3 separate regions of the Homo sapiens genome follow, and regions 2 and 3 are each linked to region 1. The links are contacts of gene promoters, found by promoter capture Hi-C in blood cells and fetal thymus (Javierre and others, 2016). All regions are on one chromosome and are shown on one strand. The core of a region is centred on a gene start or on the middle of the fragment in contact, and the rest is flanking DNA. Distances in the headings are between cores, read along the strand shown. Region 1 holds the start of PRRC2C (proline rich coiled-coil 2C). Region 2 overlaps DARS2 (aspartyl-tRNA synthetase 2, mitochondrial). Region 3 overlaps SLC19A2 (solute carrier family 19 member 2).

Evidence for each region. Contacts are between HindIII fragments. The CHiCAGO score rates a contact against its expected background, and 5 or more counts as called.
Region 2: a contact is called between a fragment that was not itself captured here and the fragment with the promoter of PRRC2C in region 1, in 1 of 17 cell types (total CD4 T cells). The highest score is 5.8, in total CD4 T cells.
Region 3: a contact is called between a fragment that was not itself captured here and the fragment with the promoter of PRRC2C in region 1, in 1 of 17 cell types (neutrophils). The highest score is 6.7, in neutrophils.

What each region holds. Positions count from the first base shown.
Region 1 is chr1:171,483,004-171,487,790 of GRCh38, forward strand. PRRC2C (proline rich coiled-coil 2C) reads left to right here and starts at 2,527. Exons shown (of 35, transcript NM_001387844.1): 1 at 2,527-2,732. RefSeq lists enhancers at 2,116-2,425, 2,332-3,080. The HindIII fragment of the contact is 3,004 bases long and covers 2,333-4,787 here.
Region 2 is chr1:173,857,889-173,862,675 of GRCh38, forward strand. It overlaps DARS2 (aspartyl-tRNA synthetase 2, mitochondrial), which reads left to right. Exons shown (of 17, transcript NM_018122.5): 17 at 1-658. Among named protein-coding and RNA genes, the nearest start is that of GAS5-AS1, 3.0 kb to the right of the region's middle. RefSeq lists enhancers at 3,026-3,742, 3,743-4,459 and silencers at 3,513-3,663, 4,711-4,787. The HindIII fragment of the contact is 2,407 bases long and covers 263-2,669 here.
Region 3 is chr1:169,478,739-169,483,525 of GRCh38, forward strand. All of the region lies in intron 1 of SLC19A2 (solute carrier family 19 member 2), which reads right to left. Among named protein-coding and RNA genes, the nearest start is that of SLC19A2, 4.8 kb to the right of the region's middle. The HindIII fragment of the contact is 4,464 bases long and covers 441-4,787 here.

The DNA of each region.
Region 1 (4,787 bases), core at 1,277-3,776:
CAGGCGAATCACATGCGGTCAGGAGTTTGAGACCAGCCTGGCCAACATGGCGAAACCCCATCTCAACCAAAAATACAAAAATTAGCTGGGCGTGGTGGCGCCTTTGTGTAATCCCAACTACTCGGGAGGCTGAGGCAGGAGAACCGCTCGAACCTGGGAGGTGAAGGTTGCAGTAAGCTGAGATTACGCCACCTGGACAACAGAGTGAGACTCCATGGGGAAAAAAAAAAAGAAAGAAGGAAGGAAGGAAGGAAGAAAAGGCAGGCAGGCAAGGAAGGAAGGAAGGGAGGGAGGGAGGGGAGGGGAAGGGAGGGAGGGAGGGAGGGGAGGGGAGAAGGAGGGAGGGAGGGGAGGGGAGGGGAGGGAAATGAGAAAATGTACTCAAGAAAAGATAGCACCTTGGGTCCATGCTGGCATACCGGAGGCTTTCTGTTTCTGGCAAAAATTAAAAGAAAAAAAGAAAAAAAAAGTATTGGCTTTGCAGTTGTTGAGTGTTCAGGTGTATAAATTAAAGCTCTTAGAAATTAATAATTTAATACATGTCTTTTTTTTTTTTTTTTTTTTTTTGAGACAGAGTCTCGCTCTCTCGCTCTGTTGCCCAGGCTGGAGTGCAGTGGCAGGATCTGTGCTCACTGCAAGCTCCGCCTCCTGGGTTCACGCCATTCTCCTGCTTCAGCCTCCTGAGTAGCTGGGACTACAGGCGCCCGCCACCACGCCCGGCTAATTTTTTTTTGTATTTTTTAGTAGAGACTGGGTTTCACCGTGTTAGCCAGGATGGTCTCGATCTCCTGACCTTGTGATCCGCCCGCCTCGGCCTCCCAAAGTGCTGGGATTACAGGCGTGAGCCACCGCGCCCGGCCATACGTGTCAGTCTTATGACCTTGGTTAATGTAATTTCATCTGATTGCTGAAGTTGTTCTCCATTGCTCAAGACAGATGATTTGGCTGGGCGTGGTGGCTCATGCCGGTAATTCCGGCACTTTGGGAGGCCAATGCGGGAGGCTTGCTTGAGCTCAGGAGTTCGAAACCAGCCCAGTCAACATAGCAAGACCTCGTCTCTACTGGCAAAAAAAAAAAAAAAAAAAAAAAAAAGCCAGGTTTTGTGGCAAGCACCTGTAGTCCCACCTACCTGGGAGGCTGAGACAGGTGGATTGCTTGAGCCTGGGAGGTTGAGGCTTCAGTGACCTGTGATTATGCCACTACACTCCAGCCTGGGCAGCAAAGTGAGACCCTGCCTCCAAAAAAACAAAGAAAGATGTTTCTGTGACCAGGACACTATAGACCAGATCCTAGAAGGTTGTAGAAATTCACTAAAGTAATGCTTCCTTGTCCTCTTGTGGATGATCAGTAGGCTTTCCCCTGGCAATGACCCTATATCAATAAAAAAACTTTTTCTTTTCTTCTTTTCTATTTTTTCGAGAAAGAGTCTCGCTGCAGCCTCAACCTCCTGTGCTCAAGTGATCCTTTTGCCTCCAGCCTCCCAGGTAGCTAGGACTATAAGCATGTGCCACTATGCCTAGCTAGCTTTTTTTCTTTTTAATTTTTTTGCAGAGGTAGGGTCTCACTATGTTGCCCAGATTGGTCTTGAACTCCTGGTCTCAAGCAATCCTTTTGCCTTGACCTACCAAAGTATTAGTATTACAGGCATGAGCCACCAAGCAAGTCCAGACTTTTCTACTTCAAATTAATATTAGTGGGGAGGGAGGTGTTCATAATTTACCTCTCTTTATTATTTCATTTATTCTAACATTGCTACAGTGACAATTCCATGGACATACACCAGCTACTGGCGGGGAAGATCGTTCAGACCAGAAGTGGTAAGAAATCCTTGAATTTTAAATATGTCATAGGTAGTTCACAAAGAGGACAAAAGATACCATTTACTAAACATTCGCCATCTGTTCTGACATAATATTATCATCATTGTAGTCTCCCACTTCCAGATACACTCATCTGCCTATGTTACACTTGCCTAGTAAAAGCCAGCATGGGTGAATCTTACTATTCAACGGAGCTGAACACTGTGATGGAGAGATCATATAAATAAACTGAATGGCTTATCTCACATCCATAATTAGAAACTTAAAAAGTGCTCTCAGCAGCCCATGCTACTCTGTTCCTCACACTAGTTTTACTTTCACTCTCTGTGATAACTTTTCAATACACCAAGACTTCTCAGCTTGCCCCAAATTCACTGAGACATACTGGCGAACTGCTGGTTCAACCATTTACACATCCACCCACCAGACATAAGAGTGCTCATTTCACTGAGGCTTATTATCAACTTGTAAACGTGGTCAATTCAAGACTTCTTAGAAAGGTCTCAGGTCCAAGCTTTGTCCTGAAAAGATAATTCTGATTGCAGAAACTCCCTCCGTCCAGCAGGAAGCGCCAGCACCCTCTGTCGGGGTTGGGCCGCCACGGAGGCTTCACGTGATCCGGCCGTCTCTGCGCAGGAGTGTGGTCTTGCGGAGATTTGACCTACGTACTTAGCGTCATGACGTAGTACGTAGGGGCTGGCTAGCCGCCATCTTGCTTCTTTTTCTCGCTCGCTCGCTCCCCCTCGGAAAGCTGCGAAAGTGCTTTGGCGGTTTGTCCATCCGCAGCTTCGGCTTTTCCAGTCTGGTGGCCCTTCCGGCCACCCCTTTAACCCCAGCTTTCCCTCCCCCTTCTTTCGATCAGAGATCGGCGGAGACCCTCGAAGTGCGCAAACTTGACACTCACCCTGACCGGTAAGGAAAGCGAGGGTGTGGGGGCCGCGATCAAAGAGGGCCCCATCGGGAACGGCCAGAGTGCGGCCTGGGGCGTGGGAGCGCACCCAGACCCTGGCGCCCGGAGGCTAGGGGGCCGCGTGGAGAGGGCCTTGGGTCCGGGCATTTCCCTTCTGTTTGGTTACCATCATCTCTGTGTCTGGGGAAGTCGGCCTCCAGCTTGGGGAGCGGGAAACCGGAGTCAGACCCGCCCCATGTGGTCTGCAGCGGGAGTTCTGGACCGGTCTGTCTTGCTCCCACCTAGACCCCAGTCCTGGCCCTGCGAGGGGATTACGCATGTTGCCGGGTAAGCGAAGGGGGTTTCCGTCTTCCTGGACTGGCGGACGTGAAGTCTTTTTTTTTTTTTTTTTTTTTTAGTGTCGGGTATGCGTTTCCCCAAACAACTGAAGGACTCAGCCGGGGCTTTCACTGTCTACCTCTTCCTGTGTAGTGAGGGTGGGACTTGCAATGAGCAATGTATGGGAGGGTCTGGTTTAAAGACCTGGTTAGATGAGAGGCTCTTCGGGGAATCAAGACCAACCCTACTTCCGCTAGGGAAGTGCTGCCCAACTCCGGAGGAGGATTTGGGTAGTCTTTTCACACTCTAGGCCGCTCCATCCTCTAACTTGCGTGGTGAATCTCGGTAGCTCCCTGTCTTTGAGATAGCGTTGATATTGGTGGTGTCAGGGTAAAGGCCCCGTTTTAGGACTGAAGAAAAGGGCATGGGGCCACTATAGAGACATTGATAGAGTCTTCCTTCCTTTGCATGAGAGGAGTACCTTTAATTTAAAGGGATGTATGTGTGTTTTGACATTATTTGGGATCTTTTGAGGGTCTGACATGCCTGATGTTTGCTGGCTTATAAAGCTACCTGGATTTCCGCATTGGCTGGTTTTCAGCCTGGGTTCATAGATTCATACCTCGTTAGAGTACTTAGAATTGTACAGTAGGCGGCTCTGCTGTAAGATTTTCATTTGGAATGCACCAGAAGAATCGGAGGATTTTTTGATTGTTGAGTACTTAATAGCTTACTCCTGCAAATAAAAATAATAGGGTGATACTAAGCACCTACCAAGCCTAACCCCACCATTTTTCAAAACTAGATTTCACCTCCCATATTGGTAATTAAGATGCTGCTTTGACTGGAGCCATTTTTAGGTGTGTGTCACAGATGCACTGCAGCATCTTTTCTGGCTCACCCCAAATGCATTGATCCCCTAAAAAATTAGGAATAAATTGAACTTGAATTTTGTCTTTAGCATGTAGTCAAATAGTAATTCTCTCCTTTTCTGTAAGTGGATTTTCAGAATATAGCCTTTTTAAGTGATTGTGTTTGCTCTGCTTAGCTTATGTGTGGCTGTTCTCCATTAGGTGACCTTTTGCTATACACTGAGCACAGTAATAAGTCCTTTTCATACATTTTTTTTTTAATCTCCACAACAGACCTTTGAGAAAAGTGCTATTAAGATCATCCCCATTTTACAGATGAGGAAATGAAATCTGAGAGAGTAGTCTGACCAAGGTCACATAGCAGTTATTGGTGGTATTGTGTAGGTTCAATTCCATACTGTCTGAACCCAAAGGGGATGCTCTAAACCTTCAACCTGCTTTTTAAATTATAAACTACAGTAACTAAATAAGATAAAGCATTATTAACTAGTAGTTTTTCTTTAGCTTGACTAGTATATGAATATTGTTGCATGCTAAGGTTAAAGTTTTGAAAGTTGTAAAAATGGAATATATCCACTTTGGACTTGGGGTAGAGGCTAATTTTTTTGTGTCCTTTTCTATTTGAGTGCTTAGAGATAACTTAAAACTAACTCTACCATGTCGTAGATATAATTTTTAAATTTAGGCGTCTGATCTATATTATTGGTAGAATATTCCCTCATCTGTAAAATGGTGATGATAATAGGACTTCCCTCAGAGGCTTTTATAGGAGTAAAAAAAGATAATGGATAATGTATGTAAAGGGCTTATTACTATGCTTAGTGCATAGTAAAAGGTCAACTAATAGTGGAGGGAGAATGGTAGGAT
Region 2 (4,787 bases), core at 216-2,715, 2.4 Mb after region 1:
TCATGCATCATTTGGATTTTTTTTGGTTAGGACTTTTTTTGAAGTTCCTTTTTACTTAGGTGTGAAAGATGGTTCTTTGTTGAAATAATATAGTGGTTTAGTGTTTTCAAATCATGTTTCTCATACCCAGATAGTAGATTATTCACTTAGGACAGAGGTAATCAAATTATGTGTGAAATGTAGGAAAATGCTTGCCCCTGTAAACTAGTGAGTTGATGGAGCATTTGCTTCATCATCCTCATCAAGAGAATCATATAAATTAAGCTTTATAATGACATTTCAACCATCAACATAATATAGTGAGGAGTAGCATAATATTTTTTAATAATGCAGAAAACATCACTGAAATGAGAGTCACAAATTTTTCTTCAGTGTTTCAGCCTGAGTAAGTTACATAAACCTCGCTTAGCCTCCCTTCCTGCTAATGTGTAAAATACATACTTGCCCTGGCTACCTCACCGGGCTGTTATTGCTGGAATCAGAGGAGATAACATATATGGAAGATAAAGTGAATAAAAGTACTTTGAAAAACTATAAAGCATTCCACAAATATGAGATGATGGTATTATCCATCCATAAATAGGTAGATATATCTCTATTTTATAGTTTCAGATTAAACAAAACTGATATCAATAGTAAAAGTCATTTTACTTATCAATTTTCTGTTTTTTTTTTTAGTTTTAAAGATATTATTGGCCGGGAGTGGTGGCTCACACCTGTAATCCCAGCACTTTGGGAGATTGAGGTGGGTGGATCACTTGAGGTCAGGAGTTCAACACCAGCCTGGCCAACATAGTGAAACCGTCTCTACTAAAAACACAAAAATTAGCCAGGCATGGTGGCGCATGCCTGTAATCGCAGCCACTCGGGAGGCTGAGGCATGAGGTTTGCTTGAACCTGGGAGATGGAGGTTGCAGTGAGCCAAGATGGTGCCATTACACTCCAGCCTGGGTGACAGAGCAAGACTCCATCTCAAAAAAAAAAAGACAACAAAGATATTATTAATCACTGAACACTATTTTCTCTCAATTATAAGTAATTGAAAATTCTAATCAACCTTAGATTAACCTCAAATGTGCGAAAAAGTGAACACCAAAACTCATTGTGATTTTAAGTTCTAATCATACACATAAAAGTTTTAATAAACTAATAATTATAAAATGAGGCCGGGTACAGTGGCTCACGCCTATAATCCCAGCACTTTGGGAGGCTGAGGCAGACAGATCACAAGGTCAAGAGACTGAGACCATCCTGGCCAACATGGTGAAACCCCATCTCTACTAAAAATACAAAAATTAGCTGGGTGTGGTGGCACATACCTGTAGTCCCAGCTACTCAGGAGGCTGAGGCAGGAGAATCACTTGAACCCAGGAGGTGGAGATTGCAGTGAGCCGAGGTTACACCACTGCACTCCAGCCTGGCAACAGAACAAGACTCCATTTCAAAAAAAGACAAAATGAGAACAAGGTCTTGATCAGTGATTTTGAAATTGTTTTCTTCTACTCAGTCTTCACTTCTGCCTTGAAATTCTTTTGATTTATACCTTTTTTTTTTTTGAGACAGAGTCTCGCTCTTTTGCCCAGGTTAGAGTGCAGTGGCACCATCTTGGCTCACTGCAACCTCCACCTCCTGGGTTCAAGTGATTCTCCTGCCTCAGCCTCCTATTTAATTAATTAATAATTGATTTAATGATTTAGTTTAAAATGTTAAATTCATTTTAAAATAACCCATTACATGTTAACACAAATAGCATGTTTTTATTTTATTTTATTTTGAGACAGAGTCTCACTCTGTTGCCCAGGCTGGAGTGCAATGGTGCGATCTTGGCTCACTTCATCCTCCACCTCCCGGGTTCAGGCAGTTTTCCTGCCTCAGCCTCCTGAGTAGTTGGGACCACAGGTGCCCTCCACCACACCTGGTTAATTTTTGTATTTTTAGTAGAGACGAGGTTTTGCCATGTTGACCAGGCTGGTCTCAAGCTCCTGGCCTCAGGTGATCCGCCTGCCTCAGCCTCCCAAAGTTCTGGGATTACAAAGGCGTGAGCCACCACACTCAGCCATGTTTTTATTTTAAAAATAATTATTTTCAAAAAAAAAATAGAAGAGTAACATTGTTTTATATTTCTGCAAATATTTTTTATTTCTGGCTTAATAGAAGACACTAGATTCTGATATCTGCTTCTGTATCCTATCTGTTGTTATATGCTGTTTTGGTTGAAGTCTGTGAAGAAAATCTGACCCCACTCATATATAAAGTTGGAAAAGGGAGGAGTATTTTAATAGCTTTGTCTGATAATTATGGATACTCTCTTTGATACCACACCAAAATATGACAAGTAGTAGAGTTCCTTAAAGGCTAGTTGCAATGTGGATTCTGAAATCGTATTGATGAGCTTTTCTAAAGTCCATTGGTGTACCTTGTATTTAAATAGAACTTTTACCTATGTGTGATATTTGTAACACCAGTCCAGTGATTGATCATTTGGAAAATATTGGTTCACTGAGTTATGCAAATCTTCCAAATGTTGACACATTTTGATATACAATATCTAAAACAAAATACCATTAATTAATATTACCACCAATCCCATTACAAAAGTCTAAGTCTGAGGAAGCTATAAGGGCACAGAAGTGTATACAAGCCTTCCAAAATTTTAGGTTTCATTTGGAAGCTTGAGTTTTATCATTGGCAACAAATGCCATCAGTTTTTTCCAAGCTGACTTGTTCTTTTTTGAGCAAATCTCTGCCAAAATTACCCCTAAAATATGAATAATCAATTTGTCAGGTTTTTTCAAACTAAAAATGTTCTGTGAAAACAAGCAGCTAGTTCAGCTTGTATCTCAAACAATTGTAACTACTTTTTCTAGGGAAAAAAAAATCTAGACATCCATACTTTATGGCAGATGTGCTTCATGCATACTTCCCATTTTGTCACACAGAATATCAAAATAACGTGTACTCAAGGTCAAGATTTACTAACAACTAAAATTCCAAAACTGCTAAACAACAGAATGCTGAATAAGGTGATCCAATTTTTAATATTTTATTTGAGACAACATCTCACCCTGTCACCCAGGCTGGAATCCAGTGGTGTGACACAGCTCACTGCATCCTCAACCTCCTGGGCTCAAGCGATCGTCCCACCTCAGTCTCATGAGTGGTTGGGACTACAGGCATGCACCATCATGCCCGGCTCACTTTTTTTTTCTTTTTTTTTTTAATTGTAGACACAGGGTCTCACTATGTTGCCCAGGCCGGTCTTGAACTCCTGGACTCAAGCAATCCCCCCACCTTGGTTTCCCAAAGTGTTGGGATTACAGGCATGAGCTACTACATACAACTGAAATCTTTTAATATGCTTGTCAAAAAGTTTTCTGATTCAGCAAATGGCACTTATATATAAAAGAGAGAACAAGAAGCTGGATGCGGTGGCTCACGCCTGTAATCCCAGCACTTTGGGAGGCTAGGTGGGCAGATCACGAGGTCAGGAGTTCGAGACCAGCCTGGCCAACGTGGTGAAACCCCCTCTCTACTAAAAATACAAAAATAGCCAGGCATGGTGGCCCACGCCTGTAATCCCAGCTACTTGGAAGGCTGAGGCAGGAGAATCGCTTGAACCTGGGAGGTGGAGGTTGCAGTGAGCCAAGATTGCGCCGCTACATTCCAGCCTGGGCAACACGAGCGAAACTCCGTCTCAAAAAAAAAAAAAAAAAGAATAGAACTTGGCTGGATGCAGTGGCTCACACCTGTAATCCCAGCACTTTGGGAGGGCAGGGCAGTTGGATCACTTGAGGCCAGGAGTTCAAGACTAGCCTGGCTGACATGGTGAAACTCCATCTCTACTAAAAATACAGAAAAAAAAATTAGCTGGGAGTGGTGGCACACACCTGTCATCCCAGCTACTCAGGTAGTTGAGGCACAACAATCACTTGAGCCTAGGAGGCCCAGGCTGGAGTGAGGTGGCACGATCTTGGTTCACTGCAACCTCCACCTCCAGGGTTCAGAGTAGCTGGGACTACAGGCCCACACTACCACACCCGGCTAATTTTCGCTTTTTTTCAGTAGAGACCGGGTTTTGCCATGTTGGCCAGGCTGGTCTCGAAGCCTGAGCCATAACCTGGCGAAAAGATACTTTGAAATGTAACATCGTTTTTCACTTCAAAATCAAGGTATTTTACCAACTTGTCTTTGGTACCTCCCCAAAAACTGATCTACTACATTTGCAGTTTCATTCATTTTTCCAACATTAAGGAATAAACTTGAAGCGCTTACATTCTTGTGGGGGAAGTAAGAACAAAACACATAATAGGTCATGGTGGTCACATGAAAAGTAAAGGGTAACCGATTGGGGTAGGTGGTGGTAGTTTTGTGTGTGTGTTTTTTTTTGAGACCAAGTCTCGCCGTTGCCCAGGCTGGAGTGCGGTGGCATGATCTCAGTTCACTGCAACCTCCACTTCCTAGGTTCAAGCAATTCTCCTGCCTCAGCCTCCTGAGTAGCTGGGATTACAGGTGCACGCCACACCTGGCTAACTTTTGTATTTTTAGTAGAGATGGGGGTTTCACTATGTTGGTCAGGCTGGTCTCAAACTCCTGACCGTGTGATCCACCCGCCTCGGCCTCCCAAAGTGGTGGGATTACAGGCATGAACCACCACGCCCAGCCTTCTTTTTTCCTTTGAGAAAGTCTCACCCTGGCACCCAGGCTGGAGTGCAGTGGCAGGATCACGGGTCACTGCAACCTCAGCCTCCCAGGTTCAGTTCCCCTGCCTCAGCCTCCCGAATAGCTGG
Region 3 (4,787 bases), core at 1,423-3,922, 2.0 Mb before region 1:
TTCACCATGGCTGCATCTCCTAAGAAGCTTTAAAAAAATGTGTTAGCCAAGCGTTGTGGCACATGCCTATGGCTGCTACTCAGGAGGCTGAGGTGGGAGAATTGCTTGAGCCCAGGAGTTTGGGGCTGCAGTGACTTATGATCACACCACTACACTCCAGTCTGTATGACAGAGCAAGACTCTGTCTCTTTAAAAAAAAAAAATGCCCAGCCACAGATATTTTCTAAAAACTTCCCAATAGAGTTTTAAATGAGCCAGAGTTGAGAACAACTGCCTTATAGGCTTTTTAAGGATAGACCCCTACATTCACCTGTATAACCTGTCTAAAAGCCAGCATACTGTTTGGAAGATACTATTCAATAAATGCTTTGAAAACGGAATCACTGTCAATTCTTACTTCTAGACACAAGATAGGGAGCCTTTATCCTACTGTTTCATTAAGCTTCTCTGACTTTAAGTTTTGTTTCTTTTGGGGCAGAGGAACAAATAAAGATGGTCAATGTGTCCTACAGTCTTGACAGAATTAAGTCTCTCTAGATGGCAGGAATATAGGCAACTTTTATGTCCTTCTTTTTGCTTGTTTTTAAATAGAAAAAAGAAGTTTTTGCTGTTTTCTTTCTAATGCATATTTTAAAATTGGGATATAGTAGAAATGATCTTTAAAATAAACTTTAAACCAGAAAGACCCCAACAGGAATTTCAGTTCCATCACTTGCTGTGTGATTGTAGACAACATTCTTTTAGTTCCCCTTAGCCTTAATCTCCATTATCAGTAAAGGGCGGTTGTTTGTTGCAAAAAGTAAATGAGACACAACATGTAAATTACTTACTCCACCTGATTTATTCACAAAGTCTGAAGACTAGAGGACAAGCTGACAAGGACATCTGGGGCAGTATGAATTAACTAAATTAATTGAGCTATCATTCCCATTCTTCCAACAACAATCACTGTAGGAGATTTTTCCTTCCTTTTGTCAGTGGCCTCAACTTTTAAGTGCTTTTTGAAAGGTAGTTTTGGTAAAAGGCTGAATACTTTGTGATGAAGCAACCTAATCCCAGACTTTTACATTCTGAGACCAATAGTAACTTTCTTTTTATCTTTCCTGTACATCTCAGTTCACTCAAGTCTAATATGAGCTAAGGTTCTAAGGTTTTAGGCAAACAATAAAAAATTGTTGCAAAATCTCTTGCCAGTGCAGAGCATAGCTATAAAAGTAAAACATAATCCCTGTTTTCTGAAATACATTCCAGACAAAAGTGATCTGTTTAATGGCCTCACCTTCATGAATTTTGGTCTAATTTGTGTTGGTAAATCAGTTAGCAAGCTCCACTTGATCAGGAAATTTTGTTGCACCTGACTATGTGCCTAAACGAATAATCAAGAAATGTAGAAATGATTCGTATTCAAAACTGTGGAAATTTTAGCAAATGAGGAAAAAAGTGCCCTTAGCTGCATTAAATAACTCTAAGTAGAAAACCAAAGCAGGTAAGGGTAATCTTGAGATTTCCAGTTGTGTTCTAATTAACAACTTGTCATTCCTTTGTGGCCTATACTTTTACAGATACTATCTGTCAGCTTTCTTTTTTTTTTGAGACGGAGTTTCACTCTTGTCACCCAGGCTGGAGTGCAATGGCGTGATCTCGGCTCACTGCAACCTCTGCCTCCTGAGTTCAAGCGATTCTCCTGCCTCAGCCTCCCGAGTAGCTGGAATTACAGGTGCCTGTCACCATGCCGGGCCAATTTTTTGTATTTTTGGGAGAGACAGGGTTTCAATATGTTGGCCAGGCTGGTCTCGAACTCCTGACCTCATGATCCGCCCGCCTCAGCCTCCCAAAGTGCTGTGAACCACCGCACCCAGCCTGTCCATTTTCTAAAGTTTGAAACTGCCTCCTCTGTTTGACTAAGTGTCACCTTCACAATTTCCCCAACATAGCACCATGAAGTACTAGCCATTAAACCTTTCCTTTAAAAATGTCCTCTACTGCTCCCTTCAATAGTTCATCTTCCTTTGTTTTGGGATTTTGGATGACCTCTTCACTCCAATAATATTGTCTGTGCTTAGACATGTTACATAACTTTTAACCATAGTTGTCCCAAAATGATTAACTGCTAAGTTTTCATTGTCTAAGTTTCATCCTTTAAATTATCAATTTAACGTATCTTTACTCATGAGTCTAATTCTACTATTACAAAACTACAATTTAGATAATGAAGATGGAGGAGAGTAACACTGCCAACCTTGCAATAACAACTAAAAACAAAAAGAAAGGCAAATAGGGGAGAGGGGGAAGACCAGATAGTTTCTCTTTAACTTATTCTAAATAAGAAACCTGCATTTTCTCCTTTAAAAGACATCAACCCAGGGGGAATGCCCCACTCACACTATTATCAGCATCATAATAACAAACCTCTACTGCTGTGTTACACACCACGCTAAGCACTTTCTCTAAATTCTCTCTATTTAATCCAAACCACAAACCTAAGGTAAATGCTTCTATCATCTCTATTTTACAAACAAGGAAACTTGGCCTTAAAGAAAGGTTAAGTGAATTGTCCCAAGTTATCACAGGATTGGCAGAAGAAGGATCTGAATTCATAAATTCTGAATCCGCCACACTAAAATGCCTGGTTTCTTCAATCAGAAAACTGCTATTAATCATCTACTATCTTCCAGGTTAATTCTAATGCTTGCAGTAGCTTTTCCAATCTGCACTGAGGTGCTTTTACAGGGCATTCATGAAGAGATAAAGACTACAGTCTCCAGCACTTAACTAATGGGTCTCCAAGGCAGATCCTTTTCTTTTTCAGTGTTTCCAATGACAGCAAAAAATGCTTCCTTGATATTTTGAATCTTGAAGGGAAACATCCTACAGGCAAAAATGTACCAATTACAGACCCTTATTAATTGTCCATACTCCAACTTCTCACTTCACGTAACATCTGCTATGTGAGCAACGGGAATTGATTTTATTATGACCAAGGTGCCTTTCACAACTCTTTGGATCAGTGCTTGTGTTTTCTTGAGCTACAAAGTCAAGGGAAAACAGATGTTCATTTTTAAGTTCTAATTTAGATTTAGGCTTTAAATTAGAATCAAGTTTCAATTAAACAACTAATAGGCAGTTATTTGCACAACATTGTTTTCAACCAGCACGGAGGTGACAAAAAGAATAAAATGGCCAGGCGCAGTGGCTCATGCCTGTAATCCCAGCACTTTGGGAAGCCGAGGTGGGTAGATTACCTGAGGTCAGGCGTTCGAGACCAGCCTGGCCAACATGGCAAAACCCCATCTCTACTAAAAATACAAAAAAATTAGCCGGGCATGGTGGCGTGTGCCTGTAGTCCCAGCTACTTGGGAGGCTGAGCCAGGAGAATCACTTGAATCTGGGAGGCAGAGATTGCAGTGAGCCGAGATCACGCCATTGCACTCCAGCCTGGGCAACAAGAGCGAAACTCCATCTCAAAAAATAAAAATTAAAATTAAAATTAAAAAATTTAAAAAAAAAAGAATAAAATAAGGCTAGGCACTGTAGCTCATGCCTGTAATCCTAGCACTTTGGGAGGCCAAGTTGGACAGATCACTTGAGGCCAGGGGTTCAAAACCAGCCTGGCCAACATGGCAAAACCCCGACTCTACTAAAAATATAAAAAATTAGCTGAGAGTAGTGGCACAAGCCTATAATCCTGGCTACTCAGGAAACTGAGGCATGAGAATCGCTTAAACCTGGGAGGTAGACGTTGCAGTGAGCCGAGATCGCACCACTGCACTCCAGCCTGGGCAACAGAGCAAGACTGTCTCTAAATAAATAAACTGAGATCCTCAGCTCTCCAGGAGTATTGAACCTAGTGAGGAATATATAATATATGCAGTATTTATAATGGAAATAGGAAATACAGGGTTGTTTCTTCAAAATGGACCTTGAAGGATGAGAAACCTAAAGGCTAACAAAGATATCAACAGATATATATGGGAAGATTATTCCAAGAAGAGAATAAGTCTTTGAGTACATGTCAACAGATGAGACTGTGGATATGCTGGACTTAAGACTATTAGATTAATATGAATGGAGCTTGGTTATGTGGAAGTGGTAAGGGGAAGAAGGTTTGTAGTAGGATATAAGGCTGTCAAGGAGGTAAAAACCAAACTTCGTGAGGCTCTGAATATCAGGCAAAATAGGTGGAATGTTTAAAAAAATCTAAGAAAGGTAGTAAATGTCTGTCAAAACACATGCTACAATGATGAAAGGATAAAAAAGTTTTTAGAGATAAAGATCTGTTTTACTGAAAGTCTGGCCTTCAACTATTAACATACAGTCAAATTTTAGCCTGCTTAAAACTTACACACTGGTATCTGTTTTAAAATTAATGCTTTTCCTGAAATCTAAGAAAAAAACTTTTGAGAGTAGACAGAAGAAATCTTTTTCTCCTCTCCTTTTGTTTTAGGATTTAGTTAACAATAGCTCTATTCAAACCAACTTGGCCCTTCTGCAGTCTTCTAAGAGCAAATACAAACTTTAATACAAATGTCGCTGAATATGACTTAGCATTAGCTTTGCTTAAAAATCATGTAATTTTTTTTATTTAACTGTCCATGGCAAAAAACAAGCATTCAGTAAGTAATGAATAAGTTGTTCTATTTATTTCAATTATTAGTTATACAAAAAAACGTAGGGTTTGCCACAAGGTAAGCAGAGGAGAATCAGCCATGATTTGGTGGTCCTCTGAGAAGACACCCCTTCCCCAGACTACTAGATTTCTCTTCAAATCCCACGCTTTTCCTCAACTA